Regions from separate parts of the Homo sapiens genome. Here all the other regions are linked to region 1. The links are contacts of gene promoters, found by promoter capture Hi-C in human tissues and cell types (Jung and others, 2019). All regions are on one chromosome and are shown on one strand. The core of a region is centred on a gene start or on the middle of the fragment in contact, and the rest is flanking DNA. Distances in the headings are between cores, read along the strand shown.

Region 1 (2,692 bases), core at 106-2,605:
TTAACCTACGTCTGCAAAGAAGACAGAGAAAGGGCTGCTATTACTGTGAACATCAAAAGGGCTTCAGTTACAGTAACTTCAGTTCACTTCATGCTCCTAACTCAGGCTCTCTGCCTCCAATGCTTAGCGTCCCGCACCCTTCTCCAGGTTTTGAACCTGATCTCAATCCAATCAAAAGAGAAACTAAGCAGATTTTTTTCTGGGCATTTACATTACCGGTAACAATAGAACATTATAAAGATCTTGTTAACAAAAGTAGCTTCTTGCCAGAGTCTTTTTATTAACACTTGCAACGCTATTTAACAAGCTGGCCATGCCTGTGTGACACCAAACCGCATGTGGATAAATTCAGTGTTTCATCTCCAGGCCCACCAATTCCTATCCTTTGTAACTAATAATGTTAACACGACAGATCAAGAAACTAGTTTTTCAGAAAGCAGTTTTCATTCATTCTCTATAGACATTTCCGCCGCAGTGAACATGCCCGCACTCAGGGTGTCTGTGCATGGCCCCAACTTTCCTCCAAGCCGGGGAGGATGCAACGTGGGCCAACCATCCCGCGCGCTCGGCCCTGGAGGCTGCGGGGAGCGACGCAGCGCGACATTCACCCCCAGGAAAGCGCTGCTTTCCGCAGAGGAGAGAGGCTGACTGTATCCTTAGCTCGGCTCCTCGCTTCCCCAGCGGCTCGCCCCAGACATTGCACCGCGGAGGGGAGGCCGGTCGACCTCTCCGGCGATGCCCGGCTTCTGCCTGCTGTGGGAGGGCAGCGGCGGGCACCGTGATCTCCGCACCGAGAAGAGCTCCCCTTGCCCTCTAGTCGAAGCTCCCGAGTGCTCGGAGCACGCTCACCCCTCGCGAACACACCCCTGCAGCCGAAGCAGCCCCTGAAGCCCGCAGCGCCTGCAACAGGTCCGGGGCAGTGGGGGAAACTTACAGCAGTGGCGACTGGCCGCAACGCACAACTGAGTTCTAGCGACGGTCACGGGCAAGGAGGCGACGAACCGGTCGTCTCAGCCCAGGGAAGCGGTGGCGAATGCCCCGGAGAAAGGAGGGCCAGCCGGGGAGAGGACTGCGCCCCGAACGATGGCTCGCGGACCGGCTACCGATGGCGTTCGCCTCCGTCTGTCGTCCCCACGCCGCGGACCCGGTGTCCAGGACCCGCAGAGCGTCTCCGGAGCGCGTCACGGTAGGGCAGAGCAAGCCTGCCACTGCAGGCGCCGCGGAAGGAGGCGGGCTGTGCGCTCGGGGGAGGGAGCTAGAAAGCGCCTTGTGTGCCGGCGGCCGCCAGGCGTCTGGACCGGGTCTCCGCAGCGCCACCGCCGCACCGCCTCCTCTCCGGCTGCCAGAGCAGTCTGCGCCCCGCCGCCGTGCGCCCCGCTATAAGTGGCGCGGCGGGGAGGGGAGGGGGCGCGTATGCAAAGAGACCGACACCGGGGGAGGGAGGAAGCGCATTAGCGCGGCCTGTGGTGTAGGAGGAGGAAGAGGAGGAGAAGGAGTGGGAGGAGGAGAGGAGCTAGAGAAGAGCGTGTCGGGGGAGTTAATCGGGAGAGGAAGCGGGAGAGGGGGGCTGCGGGGAGTGCAGAGAGACAAAGCGGACGCACTGTCTCAGCCGCTGGCAGCTGCAACCCCGGGAACCGAGAATAAAATAAGTTTTCCCGGGTTCGAGTGTCTGCGCCTCTTTGGGCCAGCCTGGTTAATGGACAGCCCCGGATCTGAGGGACCCACCTTAGGGGAGCGCAGCCCGGGGCTGTGCGCTTGGTGATGCCAGAGCCCGCGAGATGCTCTAAAAAGGGCTGCAAGGGGCGAGCTGGGTATCCGCAGGACAGGCCCTGGGCACGCATAGACAGCGCCTTGGGTAGGACACCCAGAGTGGGGAGAGATAGTGGCAATGGACGGGCAAAAGTCTGGACAGTTTAGGGACACTCGGGTTGAGCAAGCCAGGACGTTTAAGTTTCTTGCTGGCAGAGAGCCAAAGAGACTCCAGCCCCAGGCATTTCCTATGTGTCCTCCCTCCCCACTCCCCAGTGGGTGCGGCACCCCCGGCTGGACTCTGCCCTAAGCCAGGCGACTGCAGGGGCAGCCGGGGCGCAGTCCTGCGGGGCGCGCACCACGTGCTTTTCAGCCAATCGCCGCGGCCGCTTGATTCAAAGTGAACTCCTCAAAGCAGCAGCCACGCCGCCTCCTCTCCTAGCGATTAAGCCTCCATCACCTTCTCCTGTTTTTTATCGCTCGGTGGTGTTAGTTTGGAGTTCAGTAAAGAAATGGCCCAGCACACACACACGTTTAATAGTCCCGCGTGTCAGGAGAAGGGAAGGCGATTCGAAAAATAATCTCGCGTGGTGATCACTTTTACGAATCCCATTTATCTTTGCAACTAGAGGCTTGTCTTTCCACTGGGAGTTAAAATATCTGTCTTTTATTCGGTATTTGGAGCTAAGTCTATAAATGAACGGGATAGATGACCGGTCCAGCCCCCTTGTTTTACAGGTGGGGAACCGAGGCCCAGGGAGATGTGAATTGCCTGGCTCGTAGTCACTTAGCAACAATGTCCCAGCTCTGCAGCTCGAGAGTGAGGGCCCCACGACAGAGTTTATTCCGTCCCCGGGTCCCCGCGTCCCCAAGCGCCCGCGCTTCGCCTCCCAGCTTGCTTTAAAACACTAGGCGCAGGAGCGATTTAAACTGGCTAAGGAGG
Region 2 (2,692 bases), core at 79-2,578, 670 kb before region 1:
CATGAAGAGGGTCATGAATAGTACTTGACGGCATAAGACTGTGATACTTGATTCCAGCCAAAATGCTGATATTTATGTGCTCAACATGTGTTACTTATATGTCAGGGAGATTTGTCTGTAATGTAAATTCTTTTTAGAGAGCACTGATGGGGAGGCTTTGGTGCCTTACATGTCAAGGTGGGCTAAATTTCCTAACAAGACATTGGGCCCATCCTTGGGTCTGGGCCAGGCACCAGAAGCAGGCTCTGCAGTAAGCATTTACTCTCTCAGCCTCTGCTAGGATTGAAATCACCAAGAACCCAGAGGTGGCTGGGAAACCATCACATCACCATTTCACCAATGACAGCGACAACTGGCTTTTCCCTAGGGATTACTCTGTCCCTGATACTGTGCAAGAGATTTATGCGTGTTGTCTTATTTAGTTCTCACAATTACTATATGAAATAAATTTCTTATTTCTATTTTACAGATGAAGAAAAGGAGGCTCAGAGAGTTTAAGAAACTTACCCTCCTCACACCATGGATAACAGGCAGAGCCAAAAGCAAATGCAGGTCAGTGTGACCCTACACTCAAAGCCTGGGACTCACCCTGCAACAGGCTGGGTGAGGAGCCTTAGGGGCACCTGAGCTTTTGAAGCCACTCTGATGGTAAGTCTTGTCTGAATGCCGAACTGGATTCTTCATGTGACATTTAGAACCCAGCTTGAATCAGATGAAAGGGAGTCTCCTAAAATTCACACACAAGACAAAGGAGGCCTTGCAGCTGAATTTCCACAAAGCCCTGGATGGGGCTGCATCCAAATGTTCTGCATTCCAAATATTCCCTTCTTGCCACGGTGCGGTTTTGGAGTGGGCGGCCTCTTTTCCTGGAGGCTTGTAGGCACATCTTCCTGCAGAATGAGGTGTCACTATCTCCAAAACAGGGTGAAGCATCTTTGAGCTATCTCCAGTTTCTGTTGGGAGGCTTTGAACCTCTCTACAGGAATTGTGTTTCCCCAGTCAGCGATCGGTCACCCGATCGAGAGTTGCCAATAAGATAAGAAACTGCTATCAAGTTTCACCCTTGAAAGTTCTTCCTTCCTTTTCTCACTCTAGGATTAATTCATCTTGAATTTCAAGATAGGGAAAGGTGGGGGTCTTGAAATTTATAGGGATGCATCCCAGAGCAATTTCCAGTGTTTAGCCATAAATATTTTCAAGAGAGATAAAAGCAGTTACTCTAACACTAACTCCCCTGTACAGACTGGCCCCTGGGAGCAGAGAAGTGCAGCCAGCAAGGGAGTGTGGGAAGACTAACCCAACGGGACAGCCACTTATCTTTCCTGTTTGCCCCAGGGAGGGAGGTTGGTGGTGGGGGCTGGCTGCTGTTAGAAGTGCTGAGCATCCCCCACCCCTCCCAATTTGTATTTAATCTCCCTAGCCCTGTATGTTTTTTTCATTGCCAGACCCAGATCTACGACAACAGTTTCCATTTCTTCCCATCTCCCAAGCAGTGAGCAACAAAGGAAAGACATTCTAAGAGCCCATGAAACGTTTTTTTTTTTTATTGAAACCCTGTTCTCCAGAGAGAGATTGAGGAGGCGATTTAAGCAACCTTATTACAAAATAAAAATGTATCCTCCTACTCCATGGCAGGAAATGTGAGAAAGAGAGACAAGCCCATAAAAAAGCACCAAAAAAAAAAAAAAAAAAGTTTGCACAAGGACTAGAACAAAGGAGAGACATTAAATAATTATGTGCAGAAGAAACAAAAACAACATGAGACTCAAAAAGGATCGTTAAAAAAAACAATTTACACAATATTGCCTTAGGCAGGAACTTCTTTGAGATATTATGCATTATATTTCAAATTTTCTAATTAAAAAGATTAATCAAGCTGTGCATAATAGCTGGGATGGGAATCCCTTATCTTTAACAGTATAGTTTATAAGAGCATTCCTGATTTTGTACGGTTGACAGTATTATGAAGGCATTTGACAATACTATCAGAAAGATTTCAGGTGCCTCAAGTTTTGTTTGCAGCTTCATAATTTATCATTATTTAATGGCACCCAAATAAATCTGCTCATTAATGAAGCAGATTAGAAAATAGACACAATTCCGCTTGGTGGCACACACTTGTAGGCCCTGCTACTTGGGAGGCTGAGGCGAGAAGATGGCTTGAGGCCAGCCTGGTCAACACAGTGAGTCTACTATCTCTATTAAAAAAGAAAAAGAAAGAGCAAACAGACACAACATAATACAGCTACATTTCTAGACTATCTAATTCTTCTCACCCACGGCCCCAGTTGGATTGAATAGTCTGCTAAAATTAAAGTGAACAGCAAACACCGAGCTCTGTTTTAGGAAACCTTTTTTGTGTTTTGCTCAGCATTGACATTGGTTATTGATGCCTAATCTTCAATAGATCTTGTAGGCATTCTAGAACTCATGGAGTTAGTGGTTTTTTCCATAGAATAACCATCTCTGTATTTTCACATACAGATGGTTGGGGATTCTGCCCTAGAGTGGGCTAGGACAGGAGGAAATACTTGGAATATCAGGTGCAGCCATGTAAGCAGCTCATTAGAAGGGCTCATTTACTTTCCAGTAGACATTTCTCTCACTGGGGCTGGTTTCCTTCTTTGGCTCTGGGAGTACTGCCAAGTCACTTTTCCCTCCTGGGAGGAGAGGGGGTCAAGGGTGGATTGGG
Region 3 (2,692 bases), core at 118-2,617, 550 kb before region 1:
CCTTCTGTGGCATGACCTTGGCTGTGTTTCCAGCACCTGGACTCCGTTGGCACCTGGACATCGCCCAATCTTAGTTCTCCATGCACATTCTTGGTTTTGCAAGTTATTCCGTCTCCTTCCAATAACTTCCTTTTCTGCTTAAATTAACTAGAAATAGTTTCTGTTGTTTGCAACCATGGATCCTGACTAGCCCTGCCTCCTTAAAGTTGTTTCAATGGATGAGTGACTATTTAACAAGTGAGCTATGCTCATGGCATCTTATTAAAAGGGACTGAAAGTAGGAGAGCTTCTTGATTGAAGCTTGAAGGACTTTCACTTCTCCAGCTGCTGGCAGTGGGGAACAGGAAAGGAGGTCATTGAAAGCCAGTAGGAGGTGGTGGTCTATGTTAAATCACCCATGTGACTTTGCTACAGCTCCCACACCCTCAGCTTAAAACCAGGTACTGACAGGCATCCTGTGGATTTATTTTTCCAGCTCTGCCCTACCTGTTTTTCTGGCTCTCCTTTCCAGCCCAAAGTCAGGCCCCACAGCTGGATGAAATAAAATGGTTATATTGGGAGGCCTTAAAATTAGCATGGTTCAATATGTCTTAAAGTTGGGGCCATTCCCTGGGTAAAGAATGGAGGTTTTCTCACTTTCTCTGCTGCAGCTGCTGGGGATAAAAGTCAGGAGCTCTCTGCTCCAAGGGCTCTCCCAACCAGGTCCGACTCTCTCCCCACTACTTTCCAAATTCATTCGCTGCTACATTCACCATGTACCACAGCGAAAGACAACCCCACTCCATCAATGGCACATTATCATGTGGCTTTCCATTTTTCCTAATCACCTTATTCCTTTGCTCTTCCAAAGTTGAGGATAAATTATTTAACAAGTCTCTAGGGTTGACTTTTATGAGAACTTAAAGCCAGTGCCCATCTGCTATAGGTTAGGGTGAGCCAAATGCTGAAAGTTAATCCTTCTTGTTCCACTCTGGAAAATACCCAGCCATGCACACACACACGTGTGCACACGTGAGCAGTCACAGACCCCCACACCCTACAACAGCACCTCCCAAACCACATGGCCCAAGTAGTAAAACATCAAGGCTTGAATCACCATACTCAGGCCAATAAAAACTTAACTTTGCACTCTCATATAGTTGAGCTTGTGCTTGCAAAATTCCCTGCATGTGCCTGGCTCTGTGATTGAAACACTGTCATGCATTTCAGACAAGGGAATAGGTAATATTTAAACATTAATATACATCTATGCCTTTCTGACACATGCATTGAATGTGTGGAGTATCAGAGATGAAAAGTATACAATATACACACACATCATATTGTATAATTGTATAATTTATTAATTTCATCACATTTAGTTTAAGAGGCAGAGATCAGCTAATGCAACAGTTTTCAATCTTTTTCAATAGAAGTGGGTTTGAAACTTGGTCCAGCCACATTCTTACTGGATGGCCTTTCTAAGCCAAAGTTCAATTTTCTTAAATCTGTAAAACAGGGATTAAAAATAGTATGTACCTTACAGTATTACTGTGACGACTAAATGAAATCTTAGCACAAAGCCTGGCAGACAGCCAATGCTATTACTGGCTAAGATCATGGTAGCTATTATTATTATTATTCACCCCTGAATGGATTCTATTTTGCAGCAGTTTGTCCACAAAACTGCATTTATGAATTAGTCATGAATTTACTCTCGCTGACTTTTAGTATTCAGAAACATTAATATCACCCCATCAGAACTTCTCACCGGAAACATCAGTTGTTATAACTTCAATAAAAGATAAAGACCATTTCTAATTAAGTTTAACCTGAGTAGTCTTATTGTCAATGAGTTATAAATATTAGAATTTTAATAAGATTTGTGATACTTTTATGTAGAACTGGCTTAATGCAATTTCATGTTTCAGAAGAGGAAACAGATGTCCAGAGAGGGGACCATGCCTCAGGCCACAAAGCAGCAACACAAACTCAGGTCTCGAACCATGAGGCCCCCCTCTTCAGTCTACTTTGGCTTGTATTTATATCCAACTAAGGGCATACGGAAGGTCTGGTATATTTTACGGGCCATGTCCTTAATCAGGAACCATGCTGAAAACCTATTGGATTATGTGTCTAGAAACTTACCTCATCCTAACCCTAGCCTTTTTTTGGAAACTGCTCTCCCCATCCCCCACCATGGCTCCTGGTGGCCACGTTTGTAAGATATGAATCAACCCCGGCCACAGTCACTGGGCCCAGATTGGGCCCAATAGTCACTGGGCCAGGTTGGGCCAATAGGAATATTTCTTAGGAAGACGGAATGAAGTGGAGAGAGATCTAGTCTTCTCCAGGTGGATAAACATCATTATTGGTTATATTTTCAAAAGGTGTGTCCAGGGAAGCAGAGGAAGCCAAGGTGTAAAAAGAGAAGAAACAAGACCCATTATGACTAGAGATAGGAGAGTCAGATTCCTCATGGCTGTCTCTCTCAGATTCCAGTTTATTTTGAGATCCACTGCATGCTTGCCCTTGGGTTTTTGGAAGCACTGTTGAGTAAATTCTTTCCTGGCTTAAGCTAACATGAGTCTTTTCTCAACTAAGGATTTGAGAAATGGGGTTGTATTCCAGAATGCTGGAGCAGTAAGCAGTCCACACTATATTGCCTACTAGAACCTCATACCTATGGCGAGAGATTTTTCTTGTCCATCTG

Evidence for each region. The method cuts DNA at HindIII sites, captures the fragments that hold promoters and counts their contacts. A contact is called where the count stands out against the background at its distance.
Region 2: a contact is called between a fragment that was not itself captured here and the fragment with the promoter of ENC1 in region 1, in 1 of the 25 tissues and cell types used here (H1 embryonic stem cells).
Region 3: a fragment that was not itself captured here is called in contact with the fragment with the promoter of ENC1 in region 1 in 1 of the 25 tissues and cell types used here (mesendoderm cells).

Annotation. Positions count from the first base shown.
Region 1 is chr5:74,639,373-74,642,064 of GRCh38, forward strand. It overlaps ENC1 (ectodermal-neural cortex 1), which reads right to left and starts at 1,356. Exons shown (of 3, transcript NM_003633.4): 1 at 935-1,356. It also overlaps a transcript of HEXB not described here. RefSeq lists enhancers at 805-1,164, 1,626-2,341, 2,342-2,692 and a silencer at 1,205-1,464. The HindIII fragment of the contact is 27,146 bases long and covers 1-2,692 here.
Region 2 is chr5:73,968,104-73,970,795 of GRCh38, forward strand. It overlaps LOC105379034 (a long non-coding RNA gene), which reads left to right. Exons shown (of 4, transcript XR_001742745.1): 2 at 470-552. Among named protein-coding and RNA genes, the nearest start is that of LINC02122, 130 kb to the right of the region's middle. The HindIII fragment of the contact is 3,353 bases long and covers 1-2,692 here.
Region 3 is chr5:74,092,720-74,095,411 of GRCh38, forward strand. The region is part of intron 1 of LINC02122 (long intergenic non-protein coding RNA 2122); the gene reads right to left. Among named protein-coding and RNA genes, the nearest start is that of LINC02122, 9.1 kb to the right of the region's middle. The HindIII fragment of the contact is 5,035 bases long and covers 1-2,692 here.